5 separate regions of the Homo sapiens genome follow, and regions 1, 2, 3 and 5 are each linked to region 4. The links are contacts of gene promoters, found by promoter capture Hi-C in blood cells and fetal thymus (Javierre and others, 2016). All regions are on one chromosome and are shown on one strand. The core of a region is centred on a gene start or on the middle of the fragment in contact, and the rest is flanking DNA. Distances in the headings are between cores, read along the strand shown. Region 1 holds the start of ZNF295-AS1 (ZNF295 antisense RNA 1). Region 2 has its middle 19 kb from the start of PCSEAT. Region 3 overlaps LOC105372809 (a long non-coding RNA gene). Region 4 holds the start of RIPK4 (receptor interacting serine/threonine kinase 4). Region 5 overlaps LOC105372809 (a long non-coding RNA gene).

What was found. Contacts are between HindIII fragments. The CHiCAGO score rates a contact against its expected background, and 5 or more counts as called.
Region 1: a contact is called between a fragment that was not itself captured here and the fragment with the promoter of RIPK4 in region 4, in 1 of 17 cell types (fetal thymus). The highest score is 6.6, in fetal thymus.
Region 2: a contact is called between a fragment that was not itself captured here and the fragment with the promoter of RIPK4 in region 4, in 4 of 17 cell types (M0 macrophages, endothelial precursors, monocytes and 1 more). The highest score is 8.9, in M0 macrophages.
Region 3: a contact is called between a fragment that was not itself captured here and the fragment with the promoter of RIPK4 in region 4, in 3 of 17 cell types (endothelial precursors, M1 macrophages and M0 macrophages). The highest score is 7.0, in endothelial precursors.
Region 5: a contact is called between a fragment that was not itself captured here and the fragment with the promoter of RIPK4 in region 4, in 2 of 17 cell types (M0 macrophages and M1 macrophages). The highest score is 5.5, in M0 macrophages.

What each region holds. Positions count from the first base shown.
Region 1 is chr21:42,006,436-42,009,499 of GRCh38, forward strand. The region is part of intron 1 of ZBTB21 (zinc finger and BTB domain containing 21); the gene reads right to left. ZNF295-AS1 (ZNF295 antisense RNA 1) reads left to right here and starts at 2,759. Exons shown (of 2, transcript NR_119384.1): 1 at 2,759-3,064. The HindIII fragment of the contact is 1,362 bases long and covers 1,134-2,495 here.
Region 2 is chr21:41,598,089-41,600,939 of GRCh38, forward strand. No RefSeq gene overlaps it. Among named protein-coding and RNA genes, the nearest start is that of PCSEAT, 19 kb to the left of the region's middle. The HindIII fragment of the contact is 5,238 bases long and covers 1-2,851 here.
Region 3 is chr21:41,575,494-41,578,394 of GRCh38, forward strand. The region is part of intron 1 of LOC105372809 (a long non-coding RNA gene); the gene reads right to left. Among named protein-coding and RNA genes, the nearest start is that of PCSEAT, 3.5 kb to the right of the region's middle. The HindIII fragment of the contact is 1,691 bases long and covers 517-2,207 here.
Region 4 is chr21:41,765,287-41,768,390 of GRCh38, forward strand. RIPK4 (receptor interacting serine/threonine kinase 4) reads right to left here and starts at 1,766. Exons shown (of 8, transcript NM_020639.3): 1 at 1,574-1,766. The coding sequence starts at 1,755. It overlaps LOC102724800 (a long non-coding RNA gene), which reads left to right and starts at 1,881. Exons shown (of 5, transcript XR_937745.3): 1 at 1,881-1,948; 2 at 2,573-2,731. The HindIII fragment of the contact is 2,131 bases long and covers 1,006-3,104 here.
Region 5 is chr21:41,552,504-41,555,657 of GRCh38, forward strand. LOC105372809 (a long non-coding RNA gene) reads right to left here. Exons shown (of 5, transcript XR_937738.1): 5 at 301-689. Among named protein-coding and RNA genes, the nearest start is that of PCSEAT, 26 kb to the right of the region's middle. The HindIII fragment of the contact is 6,051 bases long and covers 1-3,154 here.

The DNA of each region.
Region 1 (3,064 bases), core at 565-3,064, 240 kb after region 4:
AAAAAAAAATTTTTTTTTCTTTCCCTTAGTTATTCCCTAGTGATCCCTTTCTGCTCCAGATACTCTGTCTCTAAGACCTAACCTGCACATCTGACTTCTCCCACTCCCCAATCTGGAAAGTCCTAGAACTCACCTAAACCCCTCCTCAGCACACTACTCAGAATATTAATCACCTTTCAAAGCTCAGGTCAAGTTCCAGCTACTCCATAAAATCTTCCATTATGGGTTGAATTGTGTCCCCACTCTTCCCTCCCAAATTTATATGATAAAGACTTAGCCTCCAGTACCTGGAGAATGTAGTCATACTTGGAGACATGGTCTCTAAGAGGTAATTAAGTTAAAATGAGGGCTTTAGGGTGACCCCTAAACTGATGTAACTGGTGTTCTTACAGGAGAGGAAGATTAGCACAGAGACATGAACAGAGGAAGGACCAAGTAGGGACAAGAAGATGCCATCTATAAGCCAAAGAGAAGCCTCAGAAGAAGCCAACCCTGCTGACACCTTGTTCTTGGACTTCTAGCTTTCAGAACTGTGGGAAAAGAAATCTGTTGAGTCATCCAGTCTGCAGTACTTTGTTATAGCAGCCCAAGCAAATGAATATACCTTCCTTGACTACTTCATCTTATAACGTGCAAATACCTCAACTTCAGCACCATTTACATGTTTATTCACTGCCTTTATTGTTAGTCATTTGTGTCTCCCCAAGAGGACTGAAAGCTATTTAAAGACTGATAATCTATTTAATATCTTTTGGCATTATCAATGCTCAACATGTTATCTTCCACAACAATAAAGATTTGACTTTTCTGTACTCTTCACTCCAATTAAATGCACGAGTGAAAATTATGGCTGTTAGTTGTTTTGCTGAAGTAAAGCGTATTACATCACTGCCCTGCTTTGGAGTACTGTACTGATTTTTCTATTCCTAAAGAAAATCCAAACTACAGACTGGCATACAAGACTTTTCATACTCTGGTTACAATTCATCTCTCCACCCTTATTGGACACTACTTACCATCTACTCTACAAACTTGCATATCCAGCCTCTGCCACCCAAAATCTCTCTCTTCCCTCTCCTTTACTTGGCTAACTTCTTTCGAAAGATCCAGTTGAAATGTCACCGACTCTACAAAGCTTTTGTAATTTGCCCCTAGCCAGCAGCTCAGTCATCTAAACTACCACAATACTTCATCTCTCTGTAATAACACCACAACTTCTTCAATTAATCTTCTTTTACATGTGTCTCCCCCAAGGGACTCCCTAAAGAAAGAACCCTTGTTTGCATGCACGTATCCCTGATGCCCAGCACAAGGCCTGGCAAGCTAGGTACAGGGCAAAGAGAGAAATCATCAAACTTGAGGCTCAAGACCTGGACTGGCTCACCTTTATTTCTCCAGCATCCGTTACAGAGCCCCAAAACGTGGCAGTATTCTTTGCTTTTTCTATTAGACCTTGTGACTTTAATCACTACTGGACGATGATTCCCAAATCTGTATCTCTGTTTAGACTCTTGAGGCTCCAGCCTCTCAGGTACCTACTGAACGGTTCCATCACAGTATATCCTCAGGTCCAGCATGGTACTTAAACTCCACAACTCTCGTCCCTGCTCCCACATCTGTTTGTCCTCACATATTCCCGATTTACTTTGGTGTGTTGCCAGACCCTAAAATTTCTTCTCTTTCCCTTATAGCCTATCACTGTGACCTGGTCAAACCTAGCTCTTACATAGCTTATAATCTGCTCTCTCTACTTCCATTGGCTTTGCGGACAACTAAAACTGTCCCTTCGGCTGGGCGCAGTGGCTCATGCCTGTAATCCCAGCACTTTGGGAGACCAAGTGGGGTGGATCACGAGGTCAGGAGATCTCAAGGCCATCCTGGTCAACAGGATGAAACCCCGTCTCTACAAAAAAAAAAAAAAAAAAAAAAAAAATTAGCTGGGCGATGTGGCGGAAGCCTGTAATCCCGGCTACTCAGGAGGCTGAGGCAGGAGAATCGCTTGAACCAGGGAGGCGGAGGTTGCAAAACCAGGGAGGCGGAGGTTGCAGTGAGCCAAGATCACGCCATTGTACTCCAGCCTGGGGCAACAAGAGTGAAACTCTGTCAAAAAAAAAAAAAAAAAAAAAAGAAAAAAAGAAAAGAAAAGAAAAAATTGTCCCTTTAATTATCTCATTTCCATCGAGAGACCTTCTTAACTTAACCCCAATTTTGTTATTTACAATTTTTCCTTCAGAGTGTACACATCTAATATTCAACAGTGTAAGTTCCTCGAGGGCAGGGGTTATATCTTCTTCAACTTCTATTTCAACAGAATGAAGCACATTATACTTTCAATAAAGTGTTAAAAAGGAAAAATAAACAAAAAGTTACTTTTAAGTAAACCAGCACTTCAAATTTTGACTTTCTTTTTAACATCAATATTTAGGGGTGCTTAAATTTAAACTTAATGACTACTAGTCCTTAGAGATCATCATTTACTCCAAGTACACGAGGAAAGCTTTAAAAGATAATTTTCCATGAGAAATCTTTCTAAAATGGATTAACCCACTTTCTTGTCTTCTTAAACAAGGTATGAGGACCGTAATGTAAGCTGCTTAATTGAGGACTCAGGGTCATCGTGTGAACAATCGCTGGACTATTTTGTAACACACGCGTGCCCTCGGAGGCTCGGTGCCAGGGCTGTGAGCGCTTGCACGAAAGGAAAAACCCCAGGCCGTGTGAAGTCTAACTTTCCCCGTCCTCTCGGTCAGGCAATCCCACCGGGGCACCTGTCTAAAAACACCCCGCCTCCGAACGCGCGCTCTTGCGGAATTCTCCCGAACCGCAGAGCCCTCGTGGCTGGGACCGCATAGCAACCGGGGGCAGAGTGCGAGCCCCCAGCGGTGTGCTGGGATGGAAAAGCAGGAGCCGCTGAGGATGGACTACGGGGCGTGTTCCCGAAAAGCCGGGAAGAGATGTGGCGGGGCTGCCGCGGGCGTCTCTAAGGCCGGCACGGGTGGCGTCTTGACTCCCTGCCCCTCCAGCCGCGGACCTCGGACGGGGGGAAGGGGGCTCCTCCAAGCGG
Region 2 (2,851 bases), core at 63-2,562, 170 kb before region 4:
GCCTAGGCCGCAGGAACATGACACACAATGCTGGTTCTGCCCCAGGATGACAGCCTGGGACGTTCCTGGAGTTTGTGCTTTCTGGGTTGGAGGTGGGCGTGGTCGTTGTCTTGGTGTCCCATGCAGCCCTGGGGTATGACAGGAGGAAGGAGAAGATGAAGAGATGACCCTCACCAGGGGTGCCCTCTGGGTACCAAGGTCATCTCCAACCCCAACATGTTTTCTTACCTTCGCCAGTCTAGACTTGCCCTCCATGGGTGTCAGTGGGCACCTACAGTGCAGAGACAGAGGTCAGAGGTTCCCCAGAGCCTAACAGATGGCCAAGGGCATCTCCTTGTCCTGCAGTTACTGTCTGTCAGAGGCTGAATAATGGCTGCCAAAAGATAGTCACATCTGGATACCTGGAACTGTGAATGTGATGTGACATGGCAAAAAAAAAAAAGACTTTGCAGATGTGATTGAGTTAAAGATTTTAAGGTGGGGAAATTATCCCGGATTAGCCAGGTGGGCCCTAAATGGCATTGCAAGAGACCATGTGAGAGGAAGGCAGAGGAAGACTTCACTGCAGAAGAGGAGACAGCGTGGCCATGGAGGCAGAGATGAGGGCAGTGCAGCCACAAGCCCTGGAGAACACTGGTAGCCACCACAAGCTGGGAGGTGTAGGGAAGGACCTTCCCCAGAGCATCCAGAGGGACCGGCCCTGCCCACACCCTGGTTTCAGCCCAGTGAAACTGACTGTGGACGTCTGGCCTCTAGAACTGTGAGGGAATCCGTTTCTACTGTTTTAAACCACCCGTTTTGTGGTCCTTTGTCACCGCTGCTGTAGGGAACTCCTACACCCTCTCCCATCTGGTGGCTGCGAGCCAGCAGAGCTTAGACCTGCACATGAGGCTCTCCGAGTGCACAGCCTGGGGGAGAGCCCCACCGACAGAACCGCCGCTGCCATGTCAACCTCTTGGCTTTCTGGCTCCAAATTCTGTCTCTCGGCTCTTACTTGTTGAACCAGAGCAAGAAACACAGAGAAAACTGACTTCTAAAACATCTGCATCCGTGTGAGGCAGGCAGACCCTTGTACTTGTAACTAACAGAAGAACAGATCCCCAGATGGGGAAAGGACTGATTTATCTGAGACGCTCGGGTGGTCGCCAATGCTAACACCGGTGCACTTCCTCCTGGCATTGTGCAATGTGTTTGTCTTGCGCTTGTGGTTTGTGATGCCTGTGTGCAGGGAGGAGCCCAGACAGGGCACATGGTCATGAGAGTGCCTCGAGAGGTGGCTTGGTCATTGTTTGGCATTTTGTCACCTGTAAACCCAGGCCAAGAGTCAACGTTGGCTGGGTGGCAATGGGGTTGTTATCAAGAATACTGACATGGTTTGGCTCTGTGTCCCCACCCAAATCTCACCTTGTAGCTCCCAAAATTCCCACATGTTGTGGGAGGGGCCCGGTGAAAGATGATTGAATCATGGGGGCGGGTCTTTCCTGTGCGGTTCTTATGATAGTGAATGGGTCTCATGAGATCTGATGGGTTTAAAAATGGGAGTTTCTCTGCACAAGCACTCTCTTTGCCTGCTGCCATCTACATAAGATGTGACTTGCTCCTCCTTGCCTTCCACCATGATTGTGAGGACTCCCCAGACATGTGGACTGTAAGTCCAATAAACCTCTTTCTTTTATAAATTGCCCAGTCTGGGGTATGTCTTTATCAGCAGCGAGAAAACTGACAAATACAAATACCAAGAGTAGCAGCATATCTCCAGAGGGTAGCAGTGTCCAGAATGTGCAAATGGAGTTAGCCTCAGGCCATATCGCCACCTCCACAGCCCAGCATCAGGGAACCACATCTTGGCACCTGCCATTTCCGCAGTGAGAACATCCTTCATCCAGGTTGTTATGTCACCAGCGTCTCCTTCCTTCATAATTGCACCCAATACCACCTTCTTCAGGAAGCCCACTTAGAGCAAACCCCTGCACTTTGAGAAAGGCCAAGATCATGGCTAGTGATCAGATTGAGCCTATGGCATCAAGAGGATGGGGGGTTAGCACCAGGCTCTGCCCTCGTCAGTCCCTTTACCTTCTCTGTGCTACTAGATGTGAGCAGGAAGACCAACAGGATGCACGTCCTGGAGTCAGATGTAATTCACAGAAGGCCTTGAGCACAGGGCTGGCAAACAAGCAGTGCACAGTGGGCATCAGTCATCACCGCTGTGTCCAGCTAACTCCACCCTGAATACTCAGGGCTGGCTGGGTAGCCTCTGGGATGACCCTCGGTGATCGCCTCTCGAAATTTGCTTCCTTGTGTGACTCCTTCTTCATGAGTGGGGCTGGACCTGGTGACTTGCTTCTGATGGACAGAATGCATCAAGAGTAATGGAACATCTCTGCTCTAGGTGTCAAAAACCTCTGACTTCCTTCTTGCGGGACTCTCTCTGTATGGCCTTCTCAGCTTGCTCACTTTGGTAAAGCAACAAGCTGTGTTAGATCCACATGTCGAGGAACTACACAGACAGTCTCTGGCTAACAGCCAGCAAGGAACTGAGACCCTCAGGCTCATAGAACTGGATCCTGCCAGCAACCACTAAGGAGCCTGCAGAGGGCCCCTGCTTGCTTAAAACTTCAGAAGACTGAGGCCACCACCCACTCCCTGGCTTCAACCTGGAGAGAGGCCCTGAAGAAGATTCAGCCGAAGCCGGACACTGTGGCTCATGTCTGTCATCCAAGCACTTTGGGAGGCCAGGGCGGGGAGATTGCTTGGGTCTGGTGCAACATGGCGAATCGCCATCTCTACAAAAAAATACAAAAATTAGCCAGGCGTGGTGGTGCACACCTGTAGTCCCAGCTACTCGGGAGGC
Region 3 (2,901 bases), core at 112-2,611, 190 kb before region 4:
TAAGCAATGCCTGAGAGCTGCAGTGGCTCCACATCCTTGCCAACATTTTGTGTGGCTACTCTTTTTAAATTTTAGTAACAAAGTTTCTGTCCATTTGACCCAGCAATCCCATTACTGGGTATATACTCAAAAGAATATAAATCATTCTACCATAAACATACATGCACATGTATATCCATTGCAACACTATTCACAATAGCAAAGACATGGAATCAACCTAAATGTCCATCAATGATAGAGTGGATAAAGAAACTGTGGTACATATGCACCAGGCAATACTATGCAGCCATAAAAAAAGAGCAAGATTGTATCCTTTGCAGGAACATGGATGGAGGCCATTATCCTTAACCAATTAATGCAGGAACAGAAAGCCAAATGCTTCCCATTCTCACTTATAAGTGGGAGTTAAATGATGAAAACATGGGGACACATACAGGGGAATAACAGACATTGGGACCTACCTGAGGGTGGAGGGTGGGAGAAGGTTAGATTAGAAAGAATAGCTATTGAGTACTAAGCTTTTGTACCTGGGTGACTAAATAATCTGTACAATAAACCCTGTGCCATGAGTTACCTATATAAAAAACCTGCACATGTACCTCTGAACCTAAAATTAAAGTTAAAAAAAAAAGAAACACAGGTTCTTATCAGCTTTTTAATGCTTACATAATAAATAGAGCACAGGCATGTTTCACTGAGTCCTCTGCTTGGGTCTCAGCCAAGCTCTAATCCAGGTGTCTGGCTGGCTAAGTTTGCATTGAGCTTTAACCAGAGAAAAGATCCACTTCCAAGCTCACTCATCTTATGGGCAAGATTCAGTTCTTTGCAGTTGTTGGACTGAAGGCTTCAATTTCCTGTTGTTCAGAGACCACCTCAGCTCCTAGAGGTGCCCTTAGTTCCTGCCACGTGGGTTATCCAACATGACCACGTGCCTTCTCAAAACCAGCAAAGCAGAGAGAGAGAGAGTCCAACAAAACTGATGTTAAATTTTACATTATTGTAATCATGGACATCTGGCCACCTTTGCGGTAGTCAGTTGGTTAGATGCATGTCACAGATCCTTCCCACACTCATGGGGAAGGAATTGAACAAGGTCATGAACTCCAGGATGGGGGCGGCTTACTGAGGCCATTTGAAGAGTCTGTCCACCACAAATATAAAGCTGGGAAAGGCTATAATATACCAGCGAAACCAAAACAAATAAATAGAATTTTAACATGTAAAGGACAAAGAAATTATTCTGGGAATAGAGGAAATTGTCAAAAAATTATTATGAATTTGTACATTCTTAAAACCAAAACAGCATGATGTAAAAGAAAAGCAATCAAAAATAAGAAAGCACATATGAAAAATGTTAATCCAATAGTTGAACTATTTTAATAATCAATCATAAATAAAGACAGGAAAACTTCCAAGACAGTAGAGACTCATCATGTTTCTAATTTTTTTCATCAACATATTCAATAAAAAATAAATAGAGTGTATGCAGGACTTCAAAGTTATGATGGTAAATTCTACAAGAAATGAGGAGTGATTAATTATCTTTGAGGAATTGGGTGGGAGTGAGAGAAGGATAAGCTGTTTTATGATATCTTTTAATAGTAGATACAGTTCTTAAATATATGATTATATTGCTTTAACTTTAAAAAAAAATAGACAATGACAGTGCCAGGACTTTAACTTCAAGAATGAAAAACAAATCTAAGAGAACCATAGAATGGCATTACCTTGACAAATATAACCTGTTCTATATTTTGGCTCCCTGTCCTATGGATTCAGATCCCTGGCTTTTCAATGAATGCATCTGTAGTAGTAGACTCACATTAATCAATGTAACAGAGACTGATGTATAAACCGTAACACTAACTTACAATTTATAGTGAAGTACACAATCACCAGAGACCATTTTTCTTCATAGAGAGCCTAGGAATCCAAACTATAATCAGAGAATTGCAATGGTAGATCTGGGCTCACAACAAGGGAGTCAGCTGGATAAATGGGATATATGGAATCTTTTGATGGAAGAGTCTTGTTTAGGGTATGGGAATATTTATCGTCCTTGCCCCTAGACTAAGTTTCTATAGGCCCAGCCAATCTTTGTCTCTGTGACCCTCCTTTTACTCTGCTTACTTGGCTGATAAAATTGGCCCTTCATTTACACACCTAATTGATTAAGACATGACATCATTCAGGTCGTTGTCAAGTTAAGCTTTCCTGGGCACTACTCTGTGTCATTAAGAAAGGTTTGCACATCTTTGCCCTGATCAGCTACTTCTGTATTGTAAGGTTTAACTCTCAGGGAACAATCGTAGTTTGACTATTTTCAAGTGGTTAAGAAATCATTCCACTATTTTCCCAAAGTACCAAAATAGATATTAATAGAATATTGGCTAAGATAACCCTGTTTCCAATATTAATTGATTAGTCTATTTTAAAATAACTCTGTTTAGAACTACTTTAAGTTATCTTTAATTAAAAACAGAGGCTTTTACTCTCTACTTATTTGATAGTGATTAATGAGCACTTTAAAAGTGCTTCATCTTCCTAAGAATTAAGCTCAGAAAAAACTCTAAACTCCCCATAAAATAAAGAGAAGAAATAAATTATTTTCTCAGCTGCTATCTCCTCAAATATTGCTTCTGTCCATTTTCTTTCTTCTCTCATCCTGAAACTCTGGTCCTTTCGCCATGTATTTCAAGTCTAATATTCTCTCTTGTCTTTCTCATCTTTAGTCTCTGCTTGCTTAAATCTGGCTATTTTCTTGTGGTCTATCTTCCAGTTTAATAATTCTCTCTTCAGCTGTTTCCATTCTGTTGTAAAACATGCTCCTTGCATTTTTAATTTGTTATTGTATTTTTCAGTTCTAGAATTTCTTTTTTTCCCCCAAAGCTGCTCTAACTT
Region 4 (3,104 bases), core at 516-3,015:
TTTGGATTTCATCAAAATAACCACAGCACCCCTCCTGGCCTGAGAAGTTCCCAGAATCTGAGGCAGGGGAGAAAAAGTGCACAGCCTGGGCCAGCATCTCACCTTTGAACTAGTGGTGATTTGATGACACTCGTCACCACTCTACTGGTGTTTCCAAGAAACACTGGATTTGAGGGTTACGGCAAAAAGCCACCACTATCTCTGCTGTGTAGTCTCCTAGCCAAGGACGAAAATGCAAAGGGAGAGGACAGGCCTCTCATCCACAGAGGCGTCACAGTCACGGTATGGGGCTGCAGCACGCACTGCCACCCCAGACACAGGCATCACAACGATTCTGCAGAAAAGCTGGGGCTTAGCGGCCCCATCACTCAATCAGCCGAGCATTCGAAACCAGGTCTGCCAGGCAGCAAAGGCTAAATGGTATTTTAAAAAGGTGTCGCTTCTGAGTGTATGTGTTCAAGGAATCTCTAGGTAAAATACAAGCATAGCTTCCATGTAGAAGGTAAGCTTCATTAAAGGATAAATAATTAAAACGTGCTAAATTGAGCCTTACATATGAACCATCAAAATCAACTGTAAACAGTGAAATCTACAACAACAAAGAGGTACTGTTCAAGAACATTCTCCCTACCTCTCAAATTATGCACAGACGACAACCGACCCACCGAATTTAACACGGGCGGCTCTGCGTCCTTCCCATTCGTCTTTGTTACCTTGAACACTCCTGCTAGGTAGGTACAGGCAGGTTCCATTCTGACTTTTGGACTGGGAAACTGGGGTGCAGGAGGGCCCCATGGCACGGCCACAGAACTTGAATGCAAGGCCCTTCCCTAGCGGGTCGGTCTCGAAATTAAGTCAGCTAAAACGAGAGTGTGCGGCGAGGAAGCGCTGGGCGGACGGATCAACACCCCGGGCCCCGTGCCGGACCCCACTGCCAGGCCCGAGCCCCGGAGCTCCACCGCGCAAGCGCCGGGCGCCCGGGAAGCCTCGCCCGAGCCAAGCCGAAGCTTCCGACCGAAATAATTACAGTCTTACACCAATTTGTGTTCCAACGTAAATTACTAAGTAAGTCGAACGGAGGCTAACTCCACTCACAAAGCCCAGAGGCCCACATGGCAATTTTTCTAAGCCCTGCGCAGACCGCAGCGCCCCGGTGGGTCCCGGGCGGGCCGGACGCGCCTCCCAAGGGCGCGGGTCCGAGGCGCAAGGCGAGCTGGAGACCCCGAAAACCAGGGCCACTCGGGGAGTGTCAGGAAGCACGACTGGGCGCCTTAGGACGTCCGGGCAGACGCGGCCCCCGAGGAGCCCCAGAGGAGCCCCAGAGGAGCCGCCTGACCCGGCCCCGACGTGCGCGATCGAGCCCGGGCTCGCCAAAGCCCCCGCGCCCCTCCGGCCCGGACAGGCCGAGTGGACATTGTCGGAGCCCCGCGGCCTCGCCGGCAATTGGTTTCCCCCCCGAAGCTGCTCCGGGGGTGAGTTCGGGAGAGAGAGGCAGGACCCCGGGACCAGAGCACCCCGACCCCGACCCCAGCCCGGGCCCCAGCCGCCCCAGCGCCCCGCCCGGGCCGCTCACCTGTCGTCGACGTGCAGGCTGGGCGAGCACTTGATGGCCAGCCAGGTCTTCCAGTGGACATGGCGCACCTTGTACACCTGCCCGAAGCCGCCCGAGCCCACCTTCTCCCAGCCCGTGAACTCGCCCGCGTCGAAGGTGCGCAGCAGCGCCAGGGCCCATGGGGTCCCGCCGTCGCCCTCCATCGCGCACGTCTAGCCAGCGCCGCGGCGGCTGCCCAGGTGCCCAGGTGCGCGCTCCGCCCTGTTACGTCACTTCCGTAGGTCGTCCCGCCCCCAGGCCCCGCCCACTTACCCGCCCCCCGGGCGCCCTCTCTGCCAGCGCCCGGTGACTGCGGACGGATGAATAGACGCTGCGGGTCACTGCGCTCTCCCCTGGGTGAGCAGAGCTTCTCACGCTTCTCACGGGTCTCGACGTGCGCATCAGCTGCCCTGCTTTTCTTTGCTTTTTTTTTTTCCTTAATTGCGGAGTCACATGCAGTTGTAAGAAATCATTCACTTTGCCTAGTTTCCCCCAGTGTTACCACTTTGCAAAACTTTGCCAAAAAAAAAAGTCCAATCTCACAACCAGGATATTGACTTTGATACAGTCACCGATCTTATTCAGTTTTGCCGTTTTACTCGTCTTCCTTTGCATGTATTAGTTTTACACAATGTAATCATCTGTGTACCTTCCCGTATCCACCCCCACCTGGCCACTCCTGTGGCGATTTTACAGCCGCACCCCGGAGCCCTGGCATCACTAATCTTTCCTCTATTTCTAAAATTGTTTTATTTCAGAAATGTTATGTTTAGATACAGGAATCATACAGCGCCTAATTTTTTGAAATTGGCTTTCTTCACTCGTTAGTCTAATTCCCTGCAGGTTCACGTCTTGCTTTTTTACACGAGTTTCCTCTCAGAAAGTAACTTTTTTTAAAAAATTACCCAACAGCAAATCTAAAGTCCATTTCAAATGCAAGAGTTCCCTCATCCTTTCCTAAATAACAGCCTCTTTTTACAGGTAGAACAGATGGTTTGAAAAGGAAAGATTTTTTTTTCACATATGGGGAAAAAAAATTCCCAGCCTTGGAAGGATATTTGGGTTAGAGGCCGAAGTGCATCACAGATCACGCACGCGTCCACACCTCAGAAAACACTCACTCATTCCTGAGACGCAACGGTGAGTGAAGGCTTATTTTTGGCCACAGGAGATTAATAATGAAGACAGGAGGGCGGAGCTAAAGGAGAGGGTATTTTAACGACATTAACTGTGTTTTTGTGTTAGTAACTCGGAAAGAGAGAGGCTGCCCCAAGTCAGCGCATTGAAAGCCGCAGACCTAGTGTCTCCAGGCTCCCCCTTCCAAACGGGCGCGGACCTTCTTTCATAGCCTGTAGCGGGGAGCCGCGTCTCCCCACTGCCTCCCCACTCCCATCCGGCCGCTCTTTGGAGGGAACTCACACATCCCAACATGACGATGCTTGCTCGGGGGGCCTCCTGGGGGGACCAGGGAGCCACTTCCTTTCCCACATACTCCGGAAATTAAAGTTGGTCT
Region 5 (3,154 bases), core at 437-2,936, 210 kb before region 4:
TTTATCCAATCTACCGTTAATGGACATTTAGCTTGATTAACAGACACTGTTCAAAAGAAAACATACACGTGGCCAACAAGCATATGAAAATGTTCAACATCACTAATTATTAGATAAATGCAAATCAAAACCACAGTGAGATACCATCTCACACTAGTCAGAATGGCTATTATTAAAAAGTCAAAAAAAAATAACAGATGCTGGCAAGGTTGTAGAGAAAAGGGAACGTAAATTAGTTCAGCCATTGTGGAAAGCAGTTTGGCAATTTCTCAAAGAACTTAAAGCAGAATTACCGTTCGACCCAGCAATCCTATTATTGGGCATATACCCAAAGGAATATTCATTGTTCTACTGTAAAGACGCATGCATGGTGTGTTCATCACAGCACAATTCACAGAAGTGAATTTTTTTTTTTTGCTTTGTATTTGCCACACTGTAGCTGATCGACCTGAGAAACAAAAGAGTACTGCTACTAAAGGAACCCAAGCTCTGAGTTGTCTCAAGTTTCCTCTTTTCCTGTTTTTCTCAGGTAGAGTTTCTCTCCTTTAGCTCATTCTGTCCTGAGAGAAACACCACTCCCGGATGTTGACCCATCTATAGCAGGAATTCTCCAAGTGTGGCCCCTCCCCGGCCAGGCACGGGTCTGGGAGGAAGCCGGCAAGAAGAACCAGCCTGCTTTGGGTTTTCACCTGGAAAAGAGGCAGAGCCATGTTGATTTTAGTTTGTGTAAAGCAATGAGCTATTTGCCTATAGCCTATGAAATAAATTATTAAAGATTACAGGCCGGGTGCGGTGGCTCACGCCTGTAATCCCAGCACTTTGGGAGGCCGAGGCGGGCAGATCACGAGGTCAAGCGATCGAGACCACCCTGCCCAACATGGTGAAACCCCGTCTCTACTAAAAATACAAAAAAAAAAAATTAGCTGGGTGTGGTGTCTCGCGCCCATAGTCCCAGCTACTTGGGAGGCTGAGGCAGGAGAATGGCGTGAACCCAGGAGGCGGAGCTTGCAGTGAGCAGAGATCATGCCACTGCAAATCCAGCCTGGCGACAGAAGGAAACTCTGTCTTAAAGAAAAAAAAAAAAAAGATCACTACTAATGCTATGTATTCCCTAGCTAAAATGAGCAGCCTGCTACTTTACAAAAAATTCCAAAGTGGCCCCGACGGTGCCCCGAGCGCTTCCCGCTTCTCCCTTGTTCATGAAGCTGCCTCATATCCCGGGAACTAGGCCACACTGGCCATTAAAGACACCGTCCTATGAGAAAATCCATAGACAATTTAACAATGTGGATTAGTCCGATCTTTACTTAAAATATAAAATGTGTTAATTTCATGACACACATTAGAAAGGTCAGAGGTTGTGTGTATATAAATTCCAATTTGCCACATTGTTTTTTTCCCCAAGCTCTCATTTGATGAAGCCATTTCATTCTAACTCTCCTTGCCTCTATGACATGCAGTCTTCTTGTCACAGACGTGCCTTTTGAGCTAATCTTTTCCAAGAGAACATTATAAGGTCTTCAGTTTCCCCTAATTTCTTTGAGCTCTGCTGACTTCAAGATACTGTTGCTGGAAACTTTATCCCTAGCTATAAGTACTATTTATACAACATTAGAACATTGTTTCTTTTTCATTCCTTTTGTAAGAGAATTTTTTTTTTTTTTTTTTTTTTTTTTTCTTTTTTTGAGACGGAGTCTCGCTCTGTCGCCCAGGCCGGACTGCGGACTGCAGTGGCGCAATCTCGGCTCACTGCAAGCTCCGCTTCCCGGGTTCACGCCATTCTCCTGCCTCAGCCTTCCGAGTAGCTGGGACTACAGGCGCCCGCCACCGCGCCCGGCTAATTTTTTGTATTTTTAGTAGAGACGGGGTTTCACCTTGTTAGCCAGGATGGTCTCGATCTCCTGACCTCATGATCCACCCGCCTCGGCCTCCCAAAGTGCTGGGATTACAGGCGTGAGCCACCGCGCCCGGCCTGTAAGAGAATTTACACAACATAGACAACCTATTGCTCTTAATGTGGTCTTTACATGGCTTTTTTTTTTTTATATATATGGAGTCTCACTCTGTCACCCAGGCTGGAGTGCAGTGGCGTGATCTCGGCTCACTGCAACCTCCAACAAGGCTTATTTTTAACACCCTACACCTCTGAATATGAGGTCATACCTCCTGGAATAATTCAATCAGTGTTAAATATCTTTTCTTCTTTATCTACTGTTAGTGATTCACCCCCTTGGCTACTCTGGACGTCCCCAGCAAGCACAGATTGAGGTCAATCCAGGCTACTGTGCCTCCTGGAAAAAGAAACTGGCCTTTTGTAGAAAAGCTATTGATGTTATGTTTCACAATAAAAACATGAGTTTAAAAAGCAAGTATAAGAATGCCTTATAAAAGACTTCATGAGAATTTAAGTGGAAAGCAACCTACTAATCTCTTAGAAGGTTATTTTTTGAGGGGGAAGAATATTTAGGAACATATTCAGTGATTGTGATTGCTGAAGATTTTCAATTTGTGGTATCATTAGTGTTGTTTTGAGTTGGCTGTGGTTTTCCATTGCTGCTTCATGCTTTCTGCTTATAAATTACTCTTAATATCAGTCTTAGTATTATCAATTTGATTTTACTCTTGAGTTAACAAATTGTTAATCAATTTGTGTTGTTTGGTTAACTCAGGAGTAATATGTTAATAGAACTGTCTAGGATTTTCCTGTAACTAAGCCTGGAGCCTTGTACCATTGGAGGTCACATGTGCTACCTGAACTTTCTCTGCCAGATAAACATAGTGGATGCAGCCTAATCCCTACAGGCCTTATTCAGGCATTAACAATCTGCTGCCTGTAAATCTGCACACATGAAAATATAGGCAAAATTTTCTCACAGTAAGTATATTAAAACTATCATATTATTTGTAACTGTATAGAGTGTTGTTCATAATTCAAGTAATATATATAAGTCGATATTCTCTTCTAATTGAAGCATAAATAAGTCATTCATAAACATTTCTAGGGCAAGTTGAATATTTCCTTGTCTCCATTTTGTTGTTATCACAAAATTCTTTTTCTGATGCAGCATGAACATGGGTAGATACTGGCAGACCTCTAGGTCTTTTGCTCTAATTTAGTTCACTGTGATCAAGGAAGATTCTGAATTAGTTGATC